2 separate regions of the Homo sapiens genome follow, and region 1 is linked to region 2. Evidence: promoter capture Hi-C in human tissues and cell types (Jung and others, 2019). All regions are on one chromosome and are shown on one strand. Each heading gives the region's core, a stretch centred on a gene start or on the middle of the fragment in contact. The rest is flanking DNA. Distances are from core to core; before and after follow the strand shown. Region 1 has its middle 150 kb from the start of CEP120. Region 2 holds the start of PRDM6 (PR/SET domain 6).

What was found. Contacts are between HindIII fragments. The study calls those that stand out against the background at their distance.
Region 1: a fragment that was not itself captured here is called in contact with the fragment with the promoter of PRDM6 in region 2 in 2 of the 25 tissues and cell types used here (adrenal gland and aorta).

What each region holds. Positions count from the first base shown.
Region 1 is chr5:123,266,530-123,270,844 of GRCh38, forward strand. No RefSeq gene overlaps it. Among named protein-coding and RNA genes, the nearest start is that of CEP120, 150 kb to the right of the region's middle. The HindIII fragment of the contact is 4,069 bases long and covers 1-3,667 here.
Region 2 is chr5:123,087,896-123,092,704 of GRCh38, forward strand. PRDM6 (PR/SET domain 6) reads left to right here and starts at 1,346. Exons shown (of 8, transcript NM_001136239.4): 1 at 1,346-1,624; 2 at 2,105-2,711. The coding sequence starts at 2,120. PRDM6-AS1 (PRDM6 antisense RNA 1) reads right to left here and starts at 2,421. Exons shown (of 2, transcript NR_146771.1): 1 at 2,177-2,421; 2 at 1-44. RefSeq lists enhancers at 1-540, 541-1,085. The HindIII fragment of the contact is 7,641 bases long and covers 1-4,809 here.

The DNA of each region.
Region 1 (4,315 bases), core at 383-2,882, 180 kb after region 2:
GAAATCTGCACTTTAAGCCATCATTTCTGTGCTTGTTTCAGCAGCAGCACATATACTAAGCCATCATTGCTGCAACATTTCTGAAGCAGAAATCCAAGGTCTGCACTACCTTGCTTTTAGTTTGACTTCTTGCCTGTGGCTGGGTGTGTTGTGGACCAGGTGAGTCTATAGATGGTTCTGCAAAAACCCATTGCTGTTCCTAAAAACCTCATTCAGGGTACCTGAGAATAGTGACTGTTTTTTGTGTTTGAATGAAAGGGTTTTATGTAAACAAAACAAAAAGAAAAGTGACATACACCAAGATGACCAGTAATCACTAGGCCTTTTTCTCAGCAGTGCCTCCTGCCACTTCATTTCCTTATTACTCCTCTTCTCATGCCCCAAAGATGTGTTTTGTTCACCTGGGCAACTGGTTTTTAATTGATTTTTTAATAAAGTTATTTCTTGCTGTCTTTCACTCTGATTAAGAAGCATAGCATGATCTCATCAGGCCTGGACAAGTATTGATGGGCTGGGGTATCATGGGGCTAATAAAGAGTGTTATACAGTATTTTTTAGTGACACATAAAAACTCCCTCATGAAAGATACGGAGGCAGAGCGTAATATATATGTCATTCTAGGAACAGTGGTATTAGGGTGTCTATTGCTGGACATTAGTGATTTCATTAATGCACTAAGACAGGCCTCTGTTAGGGATAAGTGGTGGGGAGTGGGCACTGGTGGGTCAGAAGGAATGCAAAGGGAAGGCCCTCACAGAACAAAGGGCCCTGTAGGTTTCTAGGTCTTTCTAGATATGCAGTAATCTAATAAAATACTTCAGATGACTAGGAAAAGAATAATTTAATTCAACACTTTATTTACCCATCTTCAACTTTGCTTTTCCCCAAAACACTATTTAAAATATTTCAGAAGGGATGAGGTGTTGAAAGGCAGAAGTGCTTTTGAATTTTTCTTTTTTTACTCATTATACCTTTAAGTTCAATCTGATCCACTCTACTCCTTGGATTACTGGGAGGAAGAAGAATTGAGGTTTCGTGAGAGAAATGATTTGGGACATTCCCAGCTACTGCTTTGGGCTCCTATTTCAATTCAGTATTAATTGTAATAAGTATTTAGTGCAGAAAAAAAGAAAACGGCCAGTATGAGCACAAAGAGCCCAGCCTTGCCATGAAGGGACCATCTGGCTTTTGGAGATTCCAGGTAACCTCACTAGGTCAAAGGGCAGGAGAGATTTTGAAGCATGAAGCTTTTTTTTTTTTTTTTTTTTGCCAGCTTTAAAATGTGGTTGTAACTGGGAATAGTGGCATCTGCCTGTGGTCCCAGCTACTAGGGAGGCCAAGGTAGGAGGATTGATTGAACCCAGGAGGCTGAGGCTGCAGTGAGCCATGATCACACCACTGCACTCCAGACTGAGTGAGAGAGGAAGACCCTGCCTCAAGAAAAAAAAAAAAAAAAAGTGATTATTCTGGGATATCATTTGCCCAGCATCGCCTTAGGGCCATGGGAGATAGAACACATTTAAGACCATCCATCCTTTTCCAGGAAGAGACTGCCTGAAGTACACAAACTATAGGAAAGGAAATACATGCACGTCCAAATTCATGCAACCCTCATATTTCAAAGAAACAAATATGTAATCGTCCTTCCAAAGCGTACATTTTGAAATACATTTTTAAAATTTGATATGTTAGAAAACAACTGAGAAAATCATTTTAAAGATAGCAGACTATAATTCTCTTTTTATTTAGTCTCTACTTTCTCATTATCCATTGACTTCATTGCTTTCAGGGGATTTGTGTTAAGCAGGTAGGGACAAATGCCAGTGGAATTTGAATTATTACCTTTAATGTAACTCTGTGTGTACCTACAGGCCTGAAGAAACTCAGGGTGTGTGTGTATCTGCAAGATTGGAGTCACACTGTGATTCATATTAAGGAGCATGGATATTACCCCATGTGCAATCAGTTTCCATGCCATGGAGATTTTGAGTGAATCTCGCTAATTCTTGCATTCATCTAACAAATGATAATTATTTTGTTTTTGAGACAAAGTCTCACTCTGTCACCCAGGCTAGAGTGCAGTGGTGCAATCTCGGCTCACTGCAACCTCTGCCTCCCGGGTTCAAGCGATTCTCCTGCCTCAGCCTCCCGAGTAGCTGGGACTACAAGCACCTGCCACCATGCCCAGATAATTTTTTTCTTTTCTTTCTTTCTTTTTTTTTTTAGTAGAGTTGGGTTTTCACTGTGTTAGCCAGGATGGTCTCGATCTCCTGACCTAGTGATCCGCCCGCCTCGGCCTCCTAAAGTGCTGGGATTACAGGTGTGAGCCACCGCGCCTGGCCATTTAACGAATAGTTATTGTCGTGTTCCCTCTCCACATGTTTCAGTTTCCCACTGACACTTGACTCCTTCAATTTTTGCATTGTTTTGTTTTGCAACTAAAAGCCCAGAAGCAGTTGTAGGAATAACTTCCAAATGAAAAGTTACAAAATGAGAATGATTCAGGGTCCCAGATGATGAGTAACCTATAAGTATAATAAAGCTATTGACAAAAATTTGATTTATTTTCTCCAATTCCTCTGATGTTAGCATTAAAAAAAATCCTTGTTTTCACGAAGTGTTTGCTGAGCAAATTTAGAAAGCATAAATAAGCAAATAAGAAATAAAAAAGAAAATATAGGCCACAGATTGCCCCATCATCGCCTCCCAGAGGTAATTGCTGCTAACATTCTTTTTTGTGCCTCCTTACCTATATACATAGAATTGGGTTTCATATTGAATTTTTCAAAAATGAGATCAGGCTGTACGAACAGTTTTGGACTGTGCTTATCTATTTGTTATGTCCTGAATACCATTTTTTTTTTTATACGATTTGGATACAGATGACAGCTGAGGAACTATCTTTCTTCCGTGTAAGTGACCGTAAGCCTTGGGCTTGCTGTAGTCCCTCGTCTTTTCTGGGCATGCTTTTCCTGTGTCAGAAGATAATACTAGTTATAGATAACATTCATCAAACACTTAGTATATGTTAACCACCTTAATAGAGTTCTCTTGTAATTTTCAAAACAACCCTATGAAGCCCATTTTACAGAAGAGGAAATTGAGGCACTAAGAGGTCAAAAGCATACAGCTAATATATGGTAAAGCCAACACTGGACTCTAGGCAGTCTGACTCCATGATCCTAAGCCCTATTCCCACTTCCTGAAAACGTGTTTAGATATATTGGATTTGGACAGGATTTAAAAGCTTCAAGCCCAATCCTAAAGCCAGTAGACAGCTTGTACATCACCTGGTCCAATACTCTTGATTTCTTTCAAGGAACTTAAGTCCAGGCTCCCAAGTCACCTTCTGCTGTTCTTTCTACTCTACCACACTGCCCCCATGACATCCCACTTTATTTTTCCCTTTCAAAATGCTGTGACTTGAGTGTTTGGGGACATGAAAGATTAATAACCTCGGTCTGGACAGGGCTGACCGTGGGCAGGCCTTGTGAGAACTTTTCCCACACTTCAGTGCCAACAGGTCTCAGGCCTGGACGGCACAACCCTGTTATTCTTTCTAGCTGTGGGCCTCCCAGAGCCAACCAGACCCACCGTACAAACTGAGCCTAGGTTCTGAGGGAGAGACCCCTGGGACGCTGCTCCCCAACATGTCAAAAAGTCTGCTCTGGACGTCTTTACCTTCACTCTAAAACTAGTGTCAAACCCGAGACATGCTGGAACTTTACCAAGCTGACACTTTAATCTCTGTAACTAAATCCATCAGGAAAATACTAATGCTGCCTACGTTATTTTTTCTTTCCTAGTCAGTTATTAGCAGCCAGAAACAGTTTGTCTCAAAGAATTTACTTCCCCGAGGACCTTTTTCAAGTGCCACAGAGTTCTATGAGAAAAATGGGAGGGTCTGTCTCTGGATCCAGAAGCAGGATCTGCCGGTGAGCAGCTCAGTGACCTTGGACAGATGACTTCTCCTTTCTGGATCCATCATTTATCAATAAATGAGTGGCTTAGCTTAAAGGGATTCCAGATCACTTCCAACTTTAAAAGTTTCTATTGTCATTGTCAGCCTCGGCCAAACACACTCTAAGCTTGCCCAATTTTCATTAACTTAGGCATTTGTTCATTTATTTAAGAATGCTTTTAAAGAATCTGGGCTGTGCCCAGTCCTAGGGATAGAGTGGCTGGCAAACAGACATGTTATATCAAGTCATTTCTATTGTGAGAAGAGCCACGAAGGAAAAACAGAGGGACATATGAGAGTATGTGATAGGGCCTGACCTCAACTGGGAGGCCAGGGATGGGCTTTGGGACAAAG
Region 2 (4,809 bases), core at 96-2,595:
GACCCGGATGAAGTCTGAACAGCACGTTTCCCAGGTTCAGAAAACTTGAGTGGTGGGAAGAGAAAAAGAAACAAGCAGAAATCAGGAAAGAATGGCTATTAATTGCTCAGATTGGCAAGTGCTAAATAAGTTAGGTTGTTTGGAAAAAGATAAATGCCGTTTCTTCTCTTTACGGTATGGCCAGAACCCCGGCGATGGGAAAGTACCTCCTGAGTCGGTCAATTTCACACACCCTGCCTGTGCCCTCTACCATCTACTACCGAAAATGCCAGGAAGAGCTGGGGGGCAAGTGCCTCCTTCGTGGGTGCGAGACTGCATCGAAGGGCTGCCCTGGCACAAAGTCTGGGGAGAGGACATGGTGGAGGTGGGGCTGCACTCCCACCCTGCCCCTCTAACACCAGGTTTTGGGTAGAGAAACCTATGCGTGACCTCCTGCGGCAGCCGCAGGCAGCTGACCGCAAACAGCCTCGCCCGTGTCCCGGAGCAGTTGTGCCACCAGACGTAACACTGGATACTTGTCTCCGGGCCCCAAGAAGGAGAGGGAAAGAGCCCTCCAGAAGACAACCCGAGAAGGGGTCAGCAGAGCGCTGGGTGGAGTGCAGACTCCATTGCAGCCGCCTCCCAGCCCCACGGCCAAGCTTGAGTCCCTCCAGGACCAGCTGCTCTCGGTCTCAGGACCCTCGGTCCTACGCCTCCCTGCACCGACAAGCCTCCCTCCTGGGCTGCAGACAGAGGGTTTCACTGCAGCGCGCAACCCGTCCCGCTCCGCCCCCAACTTTTCTCCCCGGAGGATTTATGTTAGAGGTTGCGTGGCGGGCGAGTGGACTCTGGCACCCAGAAGCACTTCAGGAAAAACTGAGCCGGGCAAAAGCGCAAACCCGGTCCTGGCGGCGCGGGCTTGCTCCAGCGCGGACACCACAGCGTGTGCGGAGATGCATTCCCGTTGCCGCATTTCCACTGCTTTCAAGATCAGGGCACTGAGCTGGGACCCAGAAAAGACATATCATGGGCAGAAAGAGACAACAGGCTAGCGGCAGACGTCACGCCAAAAAAACAGGGGATGGGAGGGCGGAGGAGTTTGTGCGGGAAAGGCGCTCTGGCGATGTGGGTCGGGCCGAATTAGAACTTCCTTCTTCCCTCTCCCCTCCCCTTCTTCTGGCCTGCCTCCCCTCCCCCCTCCGTTCTCTCTCTCTCTCTCTCTCTCTCTCTCTCTCTCTCTCTCTCTCTCTCTCACACACACACACACACACACACACACACACACACACACACACACACACACACACACACACACACTCACTCTATTTTGTGCTGTCGTAAAACCCACGTGTCCAGCCGGGAAGCTGCCAGAGCGTGGAACCAAGGAGCCAGGACGCGGCAGCGGCCAAGCGCAGCAGCCCACGGCGGTTGAGTCGGGCGCCCAGGTCCGTCCGCACTCTCGCGCCCTCCGCGGGCCTCCCAATTTTCTCGCTTGCAGGTCGGGAGGTTTCCGGGCGGCACAATCTCTAGGACTCTCCTCCCGCGCTGCTCAGGGGCATGTAGCGCACGCAGGGCGCACACTCTCGCGCACCCGCACGCTCACCGAGACACCCGCACGCACCCACCGGCAGCACCGAGTTTTCAGGTAAGGTGAGGCTGGTCTGGGACTTAAGAGTCTAGGGCTTGGTAGATAGGAAGGTTGGTGGTCCTAGGTTGGGGGCGGGCGGCGAGACTGTTCTGCCTCCTGGCGCCTGAGGCCAACGCGGCTCGGGCGCTGCGCCACGCCGGCTCGGGTCGGCTCCGGGCGCTGGCTGAGGGCGGGGGCTGCGTCCTGCAGCCGAGTTCTACGGGGCAGCGCCCTCCTGTCGGGCCCCAGCATTGCTGGATGGGAGCTGGACGCTGCGATCGGGGAGGCAGAGCAGGGTGCACACAGCTCCCTCTGTGCGGCGCCGCAGCTTCGGAGTAAACTTTGCGCCCAAGCGGAGTTGGGAAGAGGGAGCCGCGGAACCGGGCGGCCGCCGGCTGAACCACCGGCTCGGGCACTTTCTCCAGGGTCCCAGTGGCCCTCTTCCCGGCCCCTTTCGCCCAGCTCACGCGCCCCCTCTTCCCTGCCCTCTGCCCCCAGTTCGAGGCGCCGGACATGCTGAAGCCCGGAGACCCCGGCGGTTCGGCCTTCCTCAAAGTGGACCCAGCCTACCTGCAGCACTGGCAGCAACTCTTCCCTCACGGAGGCGCAGGCCCGCTCAAGGGCAGCGGCGCCGCGGGTCTCCTGAGCGCGCCGCAGCCTCTTCAGCCGCCGCCGCCGCCCCCGCCCCCGGAGCGCGCTGAGCCTCCGCCGGACAGCCTGCGCCCGCGGCCCGCCTCTCTCTCCTCCGCCTCGTCCACGCCGGCTTCCTCTTCCACCTCCGCCTCCTCCGCCTCCTCCTGCGCTGCTGCGGCCGCTGCCGCCGCGCTGGCTGGTCTCTCGGCCCTGCCGGTGTCGCAGCTGCCGGTGTTCGCGCCTCTAGCCGCCGCTGCCGTCGCCGCCGAGCCGCTGCCCCCCAAGGAACTGTGCCTCGGCGCCACCTCCGGCCCCGGGCCCGTCAAGTGCGGTGGTGGTGGCGGCGGCGGCGGGGAGGGTCGCGGCGCCCCGCGCTTCCGCTGCAGCGCAGAGGAGCTGGACTATTACCTGTATGGCCAGCAGCGCATGGAGATCATCCCGCTCAACCAGCACACCAGCGACCCCAACAACCGTACGTAGCCGCAGCCCGCGCGCTCTCTCCCGGGGCGCCGGCGCCGGCGCCGGCGGGCGCGGGTGCCTGTCAGGGAGGCGGGTCGGATAGGAGTGACACGGGGCCGGGTGGGTGGGGAGCACCTGGTCCTGGCCGCTGGCCCGCGCCTCCCCGATCTCTGTGACAAAAGTTTTCTGGCGTTGGAGAAGGAAAGAGAACGGATGGGACGGCCGGTGGCACTTTGGGGTTCCCTCTCCCTCCCTCTCCTCACCTGCTTCACAGTCCCAAGTGTTTGGGGCCGGAGTCTACCGTGGACCCGGCCTAACAGACCTCTGCCCTCCCGCCGGACAGTGCCCGGGGCCAGGCGGGTACTGGCAGCGTGTGACAGGGGGTGTCTGGGTCAGGCCCTGCCTGGCCTTAGCCGGGACGAGGGAGGGACCCTCAGCGTCTCTGGGGAGCACGCAGACCAGGGCTTGTTTTTGCTACTCTCCACCCCACCTCTGGAGGGGTCATTTTCGGGCCGCGGGGTTGTGGGGGAACCGGCGGGAGCTGTTCGCTGGCCAGGCCTCACTGGAGTAGGAATTTTAGATGAAACTGAGTCCGTTTCTCCTTGAAGGCAGGCAGTATTCTTAGATCTACTATTCATTTAAAAAGAAGGAAAAGAAAAAAAAATGACTGCTACTTACTGAGAAGAAAATTTCTGTTCTCCTCCGATTCCGCTGATCCCGCTTTATCCGCGCACCTTTGACCCCGCAAACATTCATAACCCATGTTGGTTTATGTATTTATTTTTAGAAATTAGGGTGACTGTAATTTAGTAAAAGACGCTTACTCCCCTCTTCCTCCAAGTTAATAGCAAATGCCTAACTAAACATCAGAATTCCTGTAGCTTCGGTTTCTATATTCACAATTTGAAACGCTTATCACAAGTACAGTTCCATTTGGCGGTTTTGAAGCAAAACTCTAAATGAAGATCAAGCAATATGTACTGCTTTATACCTGCTTCTTTTTGATAATTTCAGAAGTTATACTGTGTTTACACCTATACTGTGTTGGGAGTGTTAAACGTGCTCCCAGAGACTTCTGGAGATAACATTAAAGTGTGTTAAGAGCGTCAGATTGAAAGCAATACAGGATTTGAAAGATCAGCATTCATTCAGCTATTTTCTTCATCTCATTCCTTCGTCTGGCTTCTGTATGAGTAAAGTTAATTTAAAACATTTATTTTTATTCAATTTTGAATAAGTTGCTTCTTGCAAAATGTCTACCGCTCTGTGAACTTCTTAATTCGTTGTAAAAGCAAAATAAGTTCAGTTATAGCTCTTTAAAGGATTCCCTAAGTCGTTGATTTGATGAAAAAAAAAACACTGGGCAACTGCCTCGTGGTTGAGGTCTATGAATATTTTCATTATGTTGGACATAGCTGTGATGGAGATAATAATTACCAACAGAAAGAGCAATCGTATTTACTTTTTTCTTTATGAAGTTTGAGAGTAAAGCACTGGCTTAAAATAGTGGTTTCAACTCTAATTTTGCTGTGCAGTTGAGAAGACTTGTATTTCAGAGTTTCAGAAAGTTTTACAACATTATACTCTCCCAACAGATTTCAAAAAATACTTATCTCCTACTGAATTTCTTGAATGTGTGTTTTTGAAGCAAGTATTTTAAATTATGAAATAAAAAGATTTTTAAACTGCCTTGGAAAAGGTATGTCTTACTGCTAAGTGAAATATAGCCATTGCAGGCTGAGAATGCTTCATCAATCTTGCAATTTCACTTCTGAATTAAATATATGCTAGAGAAGTCACCAGCAGTACACCCCAAATCCCTGGCTGTGTGCTGAGCTCCTGTACTGTTTACAATGCAGTCTGGAAAATTAATACGTTTTCACCAGAGAAAACAGACTAATTCGAGAAAGAATTAGGATAGATTCCTAATTAATATATGGGTATTGAACCAGTTTATTGCCTGGGTAACTTTTTTCTCTGGTTGGAGAAAATAAATTACAATTTTATTTAAATAATTTATATTGTGTTAATCTTCTGGTATCTCCTTTTGAGCCAACTGGATTGTTTCAGTGTTTGAAGTGCAGGGGAAAAGACAGAAGGGAAAGAAAATT